Linked DNA regions of Homo sapiens: region 2 is linked to region 1. Evidence: promoter capture Hi-C in 16 types of primary human blood cells and fetal thymus (Javierre and others, 2016). All regions are on one chromosome and are shown on one strand. Each heading gives the region's core, a stretch centred on a gene start or on the middle of the fragment in contact. The rest is flanking DNA. Distances are from core to core; before and after follow the strand shown. Region 1 holds the start of PRDM5 (PR/SET domain 5). Region 2 has its middle 57 kb from the start of NDNF-AS1.

Region 1 (7,821 bases), core at 3,520-6,019:
CATCTATAAAACAGGGATACTAACAGCCCCCTTGCAGGTTTATTGCAGGACTTCACTAAAAACTGTGTAAAGCATCTAGTGACTGTTGTCTCTGTCACTCGCTTTTCTGCCACTAGTAACTAAAACAGTGCCTAAAAACTGCCATAGTTCAATAAATACTTATTGAATTAATTGTAGCTGCCATTATCACAAAAAATATAGTTTGGAGAAAATGTTAGAGTAGTTACATAGTTTAAAAAATGTTTAATAACACCAGGAAATACAAAGCTGCCTTGAGTCACTATGGAGAAGTGTGAATGTGTGAACACAGGGAAGAGATAGCATATACGGCAGGCTTCATGATTACTTTTCCTCTGATTATGTTTCCAGATTAGTTATCATCGGCCACCAGGAAATGTAAGCAAACATTGGCTGGCAGATTTTTAGCCCTAGGATACAAATCCATGTTTCTTCAGACAAGTCACCTTCTACACTGATCAACACAACACCTTATCCCACAAAGTCTGCTCTTCCTGTATTAACATTTATGCATGGTGATTTTTCCTCTACAGGCTTTTATTTACTTATCTGTTTCAGCTTTTTTCTTTCTTTGATTTTTTTTAACTTTGTAAAATTTGACTTTTGTTTTAAAATCTTACTGTATTTTTACAAACTCACCTTTAAGCCTTTACGTCAGGTATTTTTTTTTTTTTTTTTTTTTACTTAGGATTTTACCTCACCAAATGACCTTAGTACAAATCCCTCAGTGAGAATCAAGGTGTGTGCCTTGGTTTGGAAAGGAGGGAGTTGACACTGTGGAAGGCATAGGAATCTGAGAGGCAACTGTGAGCTGCAAGACTCCCTGCAACTCTCTGGGCTTCAGTGTTCTCACCTGTAAAATGAGGATGTGCCAATTAGATGATGTCTGTTAACTCAGCAAAAAATTACAAGATATAATTTTAGAAAAGGAGAGGCGGAGACAGGACTTTATTTCTCCTAAATGGTTGCAGCCTGCCAAGTGGCCAGCCCACAGGCTGGGAAGCATGCCTCTGGCCAAAGCCCAGAGACAGGCACTTTGAAAGAGGAAGAACTTTATACTGAACAGGCTGGCTCTCTGCACTTCTCTTCCTAGAGAATCTCCTGGCTGGCTCAGCGACTTCAGCTCTCTGCTCAGAAGTCATTTCCTCTGAAAAGTCTTCCCTGCTGACCCTCCTAAAGTAGACCCACCCCTCATTTACTCTTTAATGCCTCATCCTGTTTATTTCCTGCAATTAATTTAACACTTGCCTCAATCATTTTGGTAATCTTCCATTTTATACTTGTTTGCTGCCTATCTCCCCACATAAGAAAGCAAGCTCCTTGCAGAAAAAGACCTTGTCTGTCTTGCTCACCTGTGTATTCCCAGGGCCTAGTACAGTACCTGCCACATATGAATGATTAAATGACTGAAAGTCAGAGAAGAAAAACCTACAGCCTAAAATATCCAAAGGGAAAGAAAGCTGAGAGCAGTGTATTTCCACCTTAATCTTTCCCTTAAAATCACATAATCTGAGAGCTTGAAATAACCTTTCCACTTTGCAGTTTCAGGTACAATATCAAAAAACACCACCCACTGGTGGTTAATCATATAAGCAAGCTAGGAAAAAAATGGTCATGAAACAAAAAATGTAATGTAGTAAGGTGTCTGCTTAACTTTAAATTTTTATTGGATGTATACTTAATTTATGAGTTTTGAGTAACTAATATTAATTTTAATCTGCATAATACTTTGCAACCTAAAATGCCACATTTTCACTGAAGCATTCAACTGTGCTCCCGAGAAAACACAGCAAGCATTAGACAGGGTCTGGCACACAGCATGCAAAAAGTGTCAATTTCATTATTTTTCCTTATTCTGATTATTAGCAAATCACAATGTGTAAAAGTATGAATGAACTCAGGTCTCCTTTTTCTTCTCAAAAGCTTTCTAACTGACTCTTTTCGTTTTCTTGAGTTGTCACTATACAGATTTTTATACTGGAAAAAAAATCAGAGGCAACAGACCAGCAAAAAAGGATAATTGCCAAGGAAAAATCTAGTAGGACTAAGGTAAAGCCAGGGAATTAGGTGATTCTGCTGCAAAGACACCACCACTCTAGGAAGCACTGCACGAAAAGGGGTAGGACTAGAGGATTAAGAGGTACCACCAGCAAGAAAATCCCATCTCAACCTGGTGAATGTAATGAGGGTGGGGTTTCTAGCAAGATTCCCCAACCTCAGTCTGGATTAGATTCTCTGAATTTGAAATCAACAGATGGCTTGAATTGCAAGCACTTTTTAAAACAGGAGTGTTATACAAGCATATGTGTTATAAAAGTGTGGCAAAACATCTGTAATTTCCAACACATGTATTAAAAGTGGTATCTTCCAAAATTTGTTTAGAATAGAGAGCATAAAAACTTTTAAGTAAGGTTCTTAATGTAGCTGCTGATAAATCTCTCTTCTCAGATCCCTTGATTTATGTCCAGAATTAGGCCTAGTACAAGGTTACTTGGAAAATACCTAAGAATTGAGGGACTGTTTGCCTTCCATAAGCAGGTAAGGGATGCCTTGATACTCAGCTGCAGCCTCACAATTCAGCTAAAGTCTGCTGTTTGGCTTTAGCTTTGTCTTCGTCCTCAGATTTTGGAAGGAAAAGGAACTGAAGCTTGCTTTAAGGTCATTTCTGAGATCAACAAACCTGTCCATGACCTTGTGACTGAATATTTTGGGATCATAACTAAACATCGATAATAGTTTGGATTCATAGCAAACATCTGCACATTCACTTTGAAATACAGCGAAGCATTCTAAATATGATCTGGATGAAAATCTGTATGTGTTTTATTTATTAAAGTTAAACTGGCCAGGAAAAGATAAGCATTTATCATTGCAATAGTAAAGTGATGCAATAATATATGATGATTTTGGAAGCTGTTCATTTCATTGCATGCCCAAAAATAAAATACTTACAAAGAATCAAACACATGAAAAAAATAAACTGAAATTAATAAAAATCTCAAAAGAAAGTAGGTTGGCCAGCTGTTTCTAAAAATCTATATGGTAATATAAGGAAACAACAAGGATTATATAATAATTCTAATCTTTGCAGAGTTGTTTACAGTACTCTTCATAACATTAAATAAAATGATTTTTAAGATCTGTGTTTAATTTTTAAAGTAATTAAATTTAAGCCAGAAACCTTTAAGGAAGGTCTGTTTGAGAATTTTTCACATCTTTTAAGAATGAATTAAAAGGAGAATTTCAACTCTGTACAGACGTCATTTGGTGATGGTTGTATTTGGCCTTCAAAAAATGTTGATTTTAACATTTGGCCATTTGGCAACTATTCAATACACCTCTAATTCAGATAAATTATTTATTCCTGTTTTTAACATTTGAACATTCTCGCCAACTCCCACTTGAAAAAATAAATAAGTGGTTTATTTTCTCCAATTTTGCCCTGAAGGATGACTGGAGATCATGTTGTCAGTGGAGCCCTTTTTGGGGATTACTAGCACTTTCTACTACTCTTCACCAGCTCTTTAGGTCAGAGGCAAAGGGGAGAGGGTTATATGCAGATGAAAGGCACCCTAGTGTCTCTACTGCATCCTCTGAACCTCTTGTTAACATACCTTACCTGAACAAGCCTGTTCTTGCCCAAACCTCCATCTTACAAAATATCTACTAAGAAAAGGGGGCGAGGACGGCTAGGACGACTCTAACAAGTTATAATATTATAAGATCAAATCCAAAGAGCTGGACTTTTCCTGTGGCCTCTCTTCCTAGGCCTTTGCTTTCAACATCCAACACTTTCAGGCCCTTCCTGTACGAACTGAGCAATGTGCTTCCTCTCATCACATGCCTGTAACTTTCTGGCTGGAGAGATCGAACCGATGTTGGAGACAAATTAAAAAAAAAAAGAGCGGAGAAAAAAGGTATAGACACTCAAAGATCATCTGGTTGGCACCTCCCTGAAGGCACATATAATACATTCCAGAAGGAGGGAAGGAAATCCTGGGCGTATGAATGAGATTCTACGGCCTGCGTGGAGCGGCGCTCTGGGCTGCTCCTCCCATCCCCGCATGGAAAGTTAGGCGTTTCTAGCCACATTAATTCATCCTAAAGGAAAAGAGGCGACAGCGGAGCAGCGTGCGCGCGGGGGAAAACACCCGCCCACGCGTGCCTTCGCCAACGCAAAGACGCAGCTCACACCCGTAACCGAGGAAGAGGGAGGCTCCCGCCGCGCTCACTTCCTGCGGGAGAGAGGAAAGACATCTTGCGGCAGGGAGGCCGGTGGCAGTTCCGCCCCTGGACCGGCCGGCAGCGGAGCGCACCCCGCCGCCACCTACGTGGCGCTGCCTGCTCGGGTGGCGCAGCGAGTAAAGGCCACCCCCGCCGTGCCCCGCGGTCCCCGGCCTTCCCACGGACGCCTGGCCCGGCCCGGGCGAGGGGCGACCGGGGTGAAGCCCGCCGCGCCCCGGGCCCTGCGGCAGGGCGACTCCGGGAGGCACAGGGCGCGCGAGGTGCAGGGGCGCGCAGGCCGCCGCCGGGTCACCCACCTTTCGCACTCTGCGGGCCGTGTAGAGCCCCATGCCGTCCTGAACCCGGGAGGACTTCAGGGAGAACCTGTCCGGCACGTACATGCCCAGCATTTTCCCGGGCGCGGCGGCCGCCGCCTCTCTCAACACCGGCGCTTAGCGCCCGGCAGGCGGCACATCGAAATTTGGGGTGCCAGGGTAGAGGGGAGAAACCGGCAGGGAAGGAGGAAATGGAGTTTTCCTCCCAGAATCCCCACCTCCCTGCCGATTCCAGGATCCCCCGCGGCTCAGCCCCTCCTCGTCCCGGGTCGGGCTCGGCCCGGATCCGTTCCTGCCATTCCTGCTGCGGGGGCGCGGGGGGCGCGGGCCTGGGCGCTGCGGGCGCCGGGACGCCGCTCGCTGATTGGCCCGAAGTTGGCGGCTCTGACCCGCGCCCGGGCGCGAAGCCCGGAGCAGGGCTGACCCCAGGGCCTCAAACCCGGAGGCCCGCGAGCTGCGCGGGCCGTCAGCACCCCTAGCCCCGGCGCGGCGGCGTGCGTTCCCGCCTTTGTCCAGCTCTGGGTTTTCAAACCTTGCCCCGCTGAACCATTACTCCCTGTAGGGGAGTCTCGCTTGCTTCTCTTCAGATGCAAAACGAAATGGACCTTCACACAGCTGGGGCATCCTCCAAAACAACTTTATCAAGTTCCTGACTCTGAAAGCCAGCTTATTGCCGACTACTGAGAACGAACCCTGCGGTCTAGGAAATTTCCGTGCTTCTCACATTTGAGTTATGCGTCTTTGCTTTTTTTCACGTTTGTTGCAGAGGCTAGAACTTAATAAGGGATCGCAAAGTATGTTGATTAACGTACGGAAAAATATGTTGCAAACAATTTAATGTTTTAAGCACTAGAAACTAGATATTTTATGGTAACATAACCTCTGGGAAGTTCTTATACTTCTCAAGGTACAATATTCCTGAGACCTCCCTTGCTTGATAATCATTAGACGTATTACGGATTTTCAGACATACGGAAGTGGATTTGTGGGAGACAGGAGGGGACACCCAAACAATAGCATCTGGTGTCACAACAATGCAATAAAGTCACAAGTCTTGTTTTAGTGTTTTTAATAAGCTGTTAGGCTGTGCAGTGTGCCCAGGACCTTTAAAAGCCTGTTTCATCCTTCAAAGTGATCCTGGGGTCATCTACTCATTTCTCTTGATATTTATGGTAATTTTCTACTCTAGGGTCTTTTCTCGGAAACCATTTGATGTTCTTAATTGATGTTCTCATAAACCATTAAAAGCACACACAAAAGTTTGACAAAATTACAGACTACACACACACACCATGGAAACGATTCCTGTTTCTGCAGGAAACCCTTGGAACATAGTTCCTAAGCAGATTTTTTTTTTTTTTTTTTTTTGACAGGGTCTAGCTATGTCTCCCAGGTTGATCTTGAACTCCTGGGCTTAAGGGATCCTCCGGCGGCGTTGGCCTCCTGAAGTGCTGGGATTACACACTTGAGCTACCACACCCGGCCCCTATGTAGATTTTGATTCAAGTTTGGAAAAAGGTTTAAAAAACAAGAACAAAAGGCATTATGGGAAAAAAAAATCATGTAGTGGCAATATTCGGAGACTTTAAGGAACACAGTAAATGATGACATGATCCTCTTTCTAAGAAATGTAAGTTTAGCTTTCACAGCAGGGAGAGGAACACTTAGCCACTCTGTGAGTTTTGATACCTTTGACTTCCCATGGAAGATCTCTAACTTCTCTAGGGGAAAATAAATCAATAAAAACAAAAACTCTCTTTTGGGGGAATTGGGAGTTCCATGGCCTTGAAAAATAGTAGGTGTTCATTAAATATGTCTTGAATGAAAGTCACTTCTGAGGCTGATCTGAGATGTTCAAAAATTCTATGGTGAGCCTAGAATTTACTTGACTTTTTGTTGTGCTTCACAAGGAACTGGACTAAGTAGGTTTTCCAGGGTTCCTTAGAACCAGGGCTGAAACCATGCCAGACCAGATCCACTGGGCCCACAGTCCAGAAGGTGGGGCCCTGGCATTTTCCTGGAGCATTCAGCTCTTTGTCAAACACAGGCTTCCAGCCACCCTTAAGCCATCCAGGGCTCTCAGTCAAATGCTCTGCCACTGTCTCTTTGGGCACGAGAATTTCCACAGCTTTTGATCGCTGGAGAGGAAAACGTTTTTTGGTTTTAGTCTGAAACAATCCTTATTTAGGGATCCTTATTTAGGCATATCTCTCAAATATTTGGTTGCATGCTGTCTTTCTGGGGAGCAAGGCTGCAGCCTTGAGAATGCCCCTCTCTGAATGTAGGCTTCTTTACTAATTAGAAAATGGTGAAAGTATATAAATAAAATTTTAAAGATAAATCTGAAATCAATAAGATGAGAAACTTTCCAGATATTTTATGAAGCTTGGTCAGATATTTTTGTTACAATTGACACATTCAGTGTATTTCATTAAAGCATGCAATGTTCTTTTTTATCTATTTAATGGAGTGTTCTGAAGATCTACTAACTAAAACATAGGAACTAGCAATAAAAAGTTCTTAATAATAAGTTCCATTACAACACACAAAAAGGATACATGTTTGCCAAATCAAAATGCACAGTATTGACCGGATATTTGATTTTGAAGCCTGTAAGACAGTGATAGTACAATGAGTCATTTCTTAAAACTTTAAAAGCTAGAAAGCGACCTTTCAATATTATCTTTGAAAAACGGGAAATTAAAAGTCTGCTTTATATCAGGAGTTTAAATCCAGTCTTTAAAAAATAAATAACAAAATCAAAAAAATTGATATTAAAGTACTACCATGCACCTGATTTACTTATTCTAGAAAATATTGCACTGTCTTGACAAACAAGAAATTATTCAAAATACATTGTTCCTTACTTTCAGATTTGCTTTTGGAGGAATCTTTTTCATTGATATGTCTAAAGCAAGCTCTAGTTATTGCATTTAAACGTATGTACTTGAGTGGGCCTTGTTTTTAGGGAAGACTTGAATTATGACTGTATATTAATTAATTATTTTACCATACTGTCAGTATTTATACATACTGTCGAACTCTTTTAATTGTGCCTTGGTTATTGATGACTGATTCCAAGCACCATGGTAGACTAAAAGCCTGATTGATAGAAAAAAAATAATAATAACCTGAAACATATTTGTCTTCAGTTATCAGAGAACCAGAGGGCTTTTGTAATAATTGAATATAAAACCAAGTTTCCAGAGCAGAAAAGAATAAAGATTTAGTTGGTGTGATTAAA
Region 2 (7,821 bases), core at 3,524-6,023, 92 kb after region 1:
AGTCTAGTTTCCCAGGAAAAAGGTTCAGTGATCTCAGCAGAATTCAGCATCCTGGGCTCCAATATCCAGATATCCTTAAAAGGCCTAGGATTCCTTTTGGTAACTGCACTAGGAATTTCCTAGGCTGTAGAGATGATTCATTCTTTATAATGGTCATGTCGATCCATTGTACAAATAGTTTATACTTTTTCTTTTAACTAGTCCTCTGTTGGTAGACTACTGGGCTGTTTCTGGTCTTTTGCTGTTGAGATAATGAAGCTATAAGTAGCCAGAATATATGTCACACATGTGTGACCCTATCTACGGGTGGAAATGTCTTTGGGAATAGCTGGACATGGGGTAAAAGAATGCTGGCAGAACTTGCTTCTCTGTTCATCCCTAGCTTCCCATTCTGGGTTGTCCTTATTCTCAGGCATGCTCTTCCTTCATTGCCTGGCAAGCACTCTGTAGGCAGACTGACCGCATTTAAACCCTGGATCTATTACTTACTGGTAGTGTGATTTGTGAAAGTGAACCTGTAGATACATACATCTATATGCCTCATATATCCCATTGTCACTACAAAATACAACATAAAATTAAAATCTAAAAAAAAAGATGCATAGTGAAGAAAATTCAAACCAATTTATTAAAATATAATACTGATTATGTTTGGTTGGATATTGGCACATCATTTCAATGCATACATTTTGAAAAAATATCTATGCAAATATGTATTGCCTTTATAATAATAAAATAACCAATAATCCATTCAACAAACTCTTATTGAGTGTCTACTTAGCTAGACACTCATCTGGGCAGCAAGGATAGAGGAGTGAGCAAGAGACAAAACTCCCTGCCCTGTGGAGCTCACATTCTCATGACAATAGCACTCCATGAAGAATGCAACGGAAGCAGACCTGGATTAGACAAGAGAAATGTGGGCTTTGTCCTAACTGATACCTGCAGCTGTGTGACCTTCAGGAAGTCACTCAACGTCACTGAACCTCAGTATTCTCACCTAAAATATAGGGATCCAATACCTATTAACAGGGTTACTGTGAGAATTGAGTAAAGTCATGGGTGTGTGAGTAGTCTGAAATGTAAATCATTGTACAAATATGAGGTATAATAATAAGGTATAATTATTGTGGGCTTTTCTAAGTAAAGAACAATATTGTCAAATTATTTTTTTATTACTGTGTCTGTAAGAAGTATTAAAGGATGCTATATTTAAATCCTTTCTACTGGAATTGCTGAAAAGTATGAAGAGCTATCTGAATGTAAAATTGTGCCTTTAGTTTTACATGAGGAATAAAATGTGCAAAATCTCTTTTTTTTCGTTTAAATAGAAACAGAAAAGAATTTTTAGGATCAAACTCATGGTCAAAGTTTTTATCATCTAGGGAAGGTATTACATTTTTACCACCACTTAAAGTGCATTTGCTAAATTCTGTCCAACTTCCAAAAAATTCAATTAAATTTAAGCCATAATTACGTTCTCTTGATTTAAATATTGTTGAATGCATGCAATGTTATTTTTTGGTTCAGCTATTTCATTTTCACCAAATATTATTATTGAGCTATCTCATCTAAGGAAAGAGTGTATGGAGTTACTTACATTGTGAGTCATAGAGTTTTAGCAGTAGAAAGAACATTAAGGATTCTCCAACCCAATCCCCCATTTTACATTTGAAAAAGTAGAGCTCCTAGAAAGCTAAATGGCTTTCACTCATAGCCAGTGAGGTCAACAGCTGGGCAGGGCCTCCTGGTTTTTGGCTCCCAGTTCAGCCCAACCAGCTTAGTGATCATTCCAATATAGTCAAGTCTCTCAACACTGTATGTCTCCTTTATAAGGTCCCATGGATCCCTGGAGCAGAGTGTCCAGTGATACAGGAAATGAAAACTTAATAGTTTATTGTTAGATAACATCAGTGTCATTTTTCTATTGTATACTGAATATTCCTGTAGTTGAATTTTTAAAATGTTTACTTAGTTGAACTCGTCCTTTCTCTTTCTTTTGGTCCAAGTTGCATTGTCACTCCAGTGTTTCTCTTCTAACAATCAAGCTCCAGAATTCAAGACCAGAGCAATAAAAAGTCTCACTCTCAACTTTTCCTTTCAAGTTAGATTTATATCTTCATTTAGAAGGATACAAGAAGATATCTTTTACACTTTAAACCTTTATACTTACTTTTAGAGCAGCCCATGCCTTTGGCTTTTTGCTACAATTCTGTTTTGACCAACTATTCTTATTTTATTTTATTTTTAGAGATGGGGTTTTGCTCTGTCACCCAGGCTGGAGTGCAGTGGCACCATCGTGGCTCACTGCAGCCCCAAACTCCTGCACTCAAGCAGCCCTCCCACCTCAGCTTCCCAAGTAGCTGAGGCTATAGGCATGCACCACCACTTCAGGCTAGTTGTCTTATTTTTTGTAGAGATGGGGTCTTGCTCTGTTGACTAGGCTGGTCTCTTGGACCAAAACCTTGGCATCCTAAAGGGCTGGGATTATAGGCGTGAGCCATTGTGACTGGCCTGATCCACAATTCTTTGAAATCTCAAACATCTATCTTAGAGGCAGAAAAACAAACAAGCGAAGCAAACAACAAAACCTTGCAGTTGTGCTCCTGACTGTTTACAATGGTGTAAGAAACTAGCACTGTCCCATTTCATGGCTCCCATCAACACTACTTGTAATGTAGAAGACTCACACCCACCCCCAAAGAGCCCTGTGCTGGCTTCATCCTGCTTTTTCTCTGCAAGTGTTGGCTACTCTGGAAGGCCTTTGAATTATTTCACATGTGACAAAATCCATCATCAGCATCCTCTCTGATAAGGCCACCCTTCTCCTTTTCTGTTGTTCGTGACTTGTTCTTACTTTAAAGGATGCAGGGAGGTAGAATTTCTGTTTCTGCACCAGCTCTGGCATTTATTAGTCTTTATTGCCTTTAGCTCTGGCAAGCAGTGTTTTTAGCTCCATCCAGAGGCCTGCAAACAATAGGTACCTCATAAGTTTCACAAGGTCGTTACTAATGATTACCGCTCCTCAGCACCTTGGTTAGAGTTGATCAAGATTTGTTTTCCAAAAGAAAATGGCCTTTGATTAGGCATGGGCTGTGTTAAGTGCAGCTAAAAACAATAGGCCGATCCTTATTTTTAATGTTTTTATTACCAGTGAGTAAATGTTATTTTTGAAGTAAGACTCTACGTAAGTATTTTGAATGATCAATGTTCATGCAAGTTGGAAAAATGTAGCAGTGAACATACTTCTGACCATCACTTTTGCCATTTGAATCTGAAGCTTATATTTGCCTGCACTTTTGATCATTAAAAATAAACACTTGAAAAATAATTATGACTATCAGGTCAAAGTTTGCTAACATATTTCGACATTGTGTCAGTGAATAGAGAAGCCAAACAAAGGAAATATGGTAGAAAAAAAGGACTTTGAGTAGGAATCTAGGAAGAGCCTCTGTAACTTGCTGTGTGACCCTAAGCAACCTACTTCATCACTCTGAGTCTGTCTCTTTAAAGTGAGGCTGTTGACTGGATTAGCTGATAGAGCGCTTCTGGCATTAATTATCTATAATATTCTACATCTCTGTGGTTTTTTTACTTACTAGGAATTACTAGGTGTGGAGGGGTGAGATGGTTTTCATTTTGTTTCTGAATCAACAAGGTATATTGTTCATTTCTCATCATTTGAGACCATCTGTTTCATGACACTGCAGATTTACAGCCCATGTTTCAAGGCACCCACATTATCTATATTGCAAATGTGGAGGGTCACAGAATGTTTTTAATAAGTTAGAACCAAAACAGCAGGACCATTACATAAGCTTCTCAGAACAGGCATGTGTTAAAGAAACTAATCACAGAAGCTCAAGTCATAACATTAAGCAGAACCCAAAGAGGAATATTTACCCTCTATTGCAAACAGTCATTTTTAGTTGGCCCATGGTTGAGTGTAATGTTTCGATAATACGTTTAAAGGGCAGAGTTTGCAAGCTCCTGATGCACAGACTGTTATTAACATACATTTTTTCTTCTTTTATCGAAGTGATAAATTCTCCATGATTATTTTGTGATGTAGTCAGAGGGAAGTCATTGAATTTTTACAGTTTCACAATGCATGTGCTTTCCAAGACCCTGTAGAGCCATGGGACTTCATTTTGGTTTATAAGTAGGCAAAGGCGGAGTAAGAGGAAACTTGAGTAAAACTAATGTCAACAAAAAGAAAAAATTTGAAGGCTAAGGTTTTCTTTTATCTGAAATCAGGTTTAGTTTCAATGCAATTTCCTCTTTTGATCCTGCTGTCTGCAATAATGTCAGCAACCTTGAGTTTATTTATGGCTCCTTGGTATAATCTCACTGTGTGTGGAAGCCTGGTACCAGGCTTCCCTAAATACTTTGGTGATAAAGGTCAGTCCAGAGCAGAATTATGAGGGGAAGCAGCTATCTTTACTCTCTTCATTTGATTTAGCAGTTACATATAAACCCAGAGTTAGAAGTGGGCCTCTATAAAAGAGGAAGACTTAGAGGTGGATATGTAGATTTGTATTTTATAGACACACACACATATATATCTAAGTAGGCATTCAAATATGGCCTGGTAAGTTGAATTTAGGAAGAGATAGCTGAGCTCAAAATAGCAAAAATCAGAAGGATTATAATGACCATCAAATAGCAGTTTCCACTTGTATCTCCAGGTCTGCAATCAAGGCTAACACTCAGTCATAATCAATGAAAGAAAGTCAACAACACAAACGGGGTCTCCACATTCTTGAGTTTCTGACACTTTGGTTCTACACCCCCCTAGTAGGAAACTCAACTGACTCTCTTAAAATTTTGACTTAACAGTTGTGAAAACGTCTTAAATGATAGGGAATTTACCTAAACTTGGAGATCAAATATTAATTACAGCTGAAATAACACCCTTTACAGCCTGCTTTGTTTAGCAGCATCTTTCTTTTATCCATCAAAAATGATGAAGAGATATTTGTTTGGATTTTCAAATTCCATTTGCTCTGTTAAAACAGCATTGCAGCCAAAAGACTCTAATGAAAGTTTCCCTGTGACAAGCCTAAACAATGATCCAATAGGAATTAAAAACCAAACTAATGAGAAAATGATGTAAAAGGCCAGCTTTCTGCTCTCCCCACAAGGATTTTAATTACAGAGAAATCAACAGCTGTGCCAGGGGTAACACAGGCGTGCTGGCCATGCAAAATAACACCTTGGAAGGAATGAGTTTGAAGTAAATGGGCTGGAAATATTGGTTTTCCAAGCAATCAACAACAACACATGAGGGGCAATATAGAGCCTTTAATTTGGTTAAGTGTGCTGATCCCAAACTTAAGTATAGCAAATGAATTCCCACAAGTGTGTGGATACATGTGACCCTTGATTAAATGGAAAAATAATCTTCCACATACACTGCCAGTCACAAGACCTGGGAAAGCAAGATGAAGTCCAGCCCAGGAGGACTTCAAAACCCACTGTATATTTTCCCTATGTATGAAAGTAAGTGTTCTTCTGACCCTATCACTCACTGTAGGAATATAATGTTATTTCATATTGTTGTTTGTTTCCTGTACAGCTCACCTTATATAGAATATTTTGAACAAAAGTTTTTTCTCTCACTTCAGGAGGGCTTATATCTTTTTCTCCTCCTGCCCCTTTCTACATGAAGGTTATGGTTAAACTGAAATTACCTAAAACATGCTTTTATTAGTCAGCTCACTAATGAGAAGCTTAAATATATCCCTGGATACTAGAAATACTACTGTGTCAACCAATAAAGTAAACCAAAAACCAATCTCAAATAGGTTCAAAATAGTATAATAATGCAAATCCAAAGCAAATAGAAAATATTTTCAGTCTTTGTGATTAGACAATAACCTTGAGCTTTTATTACTTTTTTTTTCCATGAGTATTGTGTTACATTTGACCCATGACTTCAGTGTTCTATGACAGCGGTCCCCAACCTTTTTGGCACCAGGGACTGGTTTCCACCTACAGAGGTGGGGAAGATGATTTCGGGATGAAACTGTTCTCAGGCATTAGATTCTCATAAGGAGCACACAACCTAGATCACTTGCATGCATAGTTCACAATAGGGTTTGCGCTCTGAGAATCTAATGCCGCCGCTGATCTGACAGGAGGCAGAGCTCTGGCGGTAGTGCCCTCTTGCCTACAACTCACCTCCTGCTATGTGGCCTGGTTCCTAACAGGCCACGGACCGGTACAGGTCTGTGACCCTTAAGTTGGGGATCCCTGTTCTATGACACATCACAGAATGAAAGACAATCATTTTTGTTGAGGAAAGGAAATAAGCACTTCAGTTCACCAATTAGGGGTGTGGCAAGGTGCAGCTCTGTTTACTCACTCTGGACATTCTTTTCCTGGGGACAGGCAGCTGGACACGCTGACCATGTGGGATGACACAGCTCAGTCTCTCAGGGCTTCCTGCACAGGACGGCAGCTTTGGGAAGTGGAAAGAGCCAGTGGTTGGAGTCCCACTTGAGTTCAAAGTTCATTTAGCTCAGCTGTGTGATTCAAGTAGCTTGCTTAACCTTTCCGAGCCTTGTTTTGCTTAATTAAGCAACTTACCCGAGGTAGCCTTGTTAGAAGGTAGAAGAGCCAGCATTTGAATTTAAGGCTGTCTGACTTTAAGCCTGTGCTAACTTTATTTCTGTTTTCATGGTAAAGATGCATGTCTCACATGTAGCCAATATACAGAAGATTAAACATATATTGATTTCATTAGAAGGATCTACTTCCTTCCTGAATGCTTCGCAAAATTCTGGCTGCTGCACACTTTATAACAAGATAGTTCTGTGAGGCCATGGCTCTCAACCCTAACCGAGTGTTCTGTGGCTGTGTTCCACCTGCAGCTCTGCTCTGCTCCCATGCCCCCAGGTTCTTCTCTGTGCTGTGCCAATGCTAGAAACTGCTGAGGGAAAGAAAGTCTACATTTCAATGTAGAAGCCCCATCTTCAGAGTCAGTGATAATGGTCTCCTGATCTGCACAAAAAAAAAAACAAAAACAAAAAACAAAAGAACAAAAACAAAAACAAAAACAGGAAAACAGGGCTACATTCTGGCAGTGTTTTGTTTTTTTGTTTTTTTTTAATTTTTGAGACAGGGTCTTGGTCTTGCTCTATCACCCAAGCTGGAGTGCAGTGGAATGATCATGGCTCCCTGCAGCCTTGACTTCCAGGGCTCAGTGAATCCTCCCACCTCAGCCGCCTTAGTAGCAGGGACTACAGGCACGTGCCACCAAGCCTGGTAATATTTTTTATTTTTAGTAGAGACAAAGTCTCGCTCTGTTTCCCAGGCTGGTCTTGAACTCCTGGGCTCAAGCGATCCTCCCTCCTTGGCCCTACAAAGTGCTGGGATTATGGGTGAGAGTCACTGAGCCTGGCCTCTGGAAGTTTTTGTTTGTTTGTTTGTTGGTTGGTTTTTTTGCTCCCTTTCTTATTTTATTTTAGATTTGTATTGAAACTGTTTCTAAAGTCCTGGGTACCTCCTTCTTCCTTTGCTCCCCATGCTAAAGACTCAGAAAATATCTGGGATTCTATCTGTTGGCTATACATTGCTACTGCTGGAGCTGGAAGTCACCTCGATAGGCATTGCCTCCACTCAGCTGTCAGAAAAAAAAGTTTAGTATTCAGTAGACTAGACTTTCTGGGAAGGCAGTGACCATGTCTGGTTTTTCCCTATTTTTGGCCCATTACCTAGCATGGTGCCTGGGTCACGGGGAGCACTTCATAAATATTTGCCAAATGCATAAGTGAATAAACTATTATAAAACTTGTCACAGGTTGTCTTTCCTCTCAA

Evidence for each region. The method cuts DNA at HindIII sites, captures the fragments that hold promoters and counts their contacts. A CHiCAGO score of 5 or more calls a contact.
Region 2: a fragment that was not itself captured here is called in contact with the fragment with the promoter of PRDM5 in region 1 in 1 of 17 cell types (naive CD8 T cells); the score reaches 5.0 in naive CD8 T cells.

Annotation. Positions count from the first base shown.
Region 1 is chr4:120,917,957-120,925,777 of GRCh38, forward strand. It overlaps PRDM5 (PR/SET domain 5), which reads right to left and starts at 4,770. Exons shown (of 16, transcript NM_018699.4): 1 at 4,560-4,770. The coding sequence starts at 4,652. It overlaps LOC105377399 (a long non-coding RNA gene), which reads left to right and starts at 4,980. Exons shown (of 2, transcript XR_001741804.2): 1 at 4,980-5,371. The HindIII fragment of the contact is 4,297 bases long and covers 2,664-6,960 here.
Region 2 is chr4:121,010,411-121,018,231 of GRCh38, forward strand. No RefSeq gene overlaps it. Among named protein-coding and RNA genes, the nearest start is that of NDNF-AS1, 57 kb to the right of the region's middle. The HindIII fragment of the contact is 1,914 bases long and covers 3,817-5,730 here.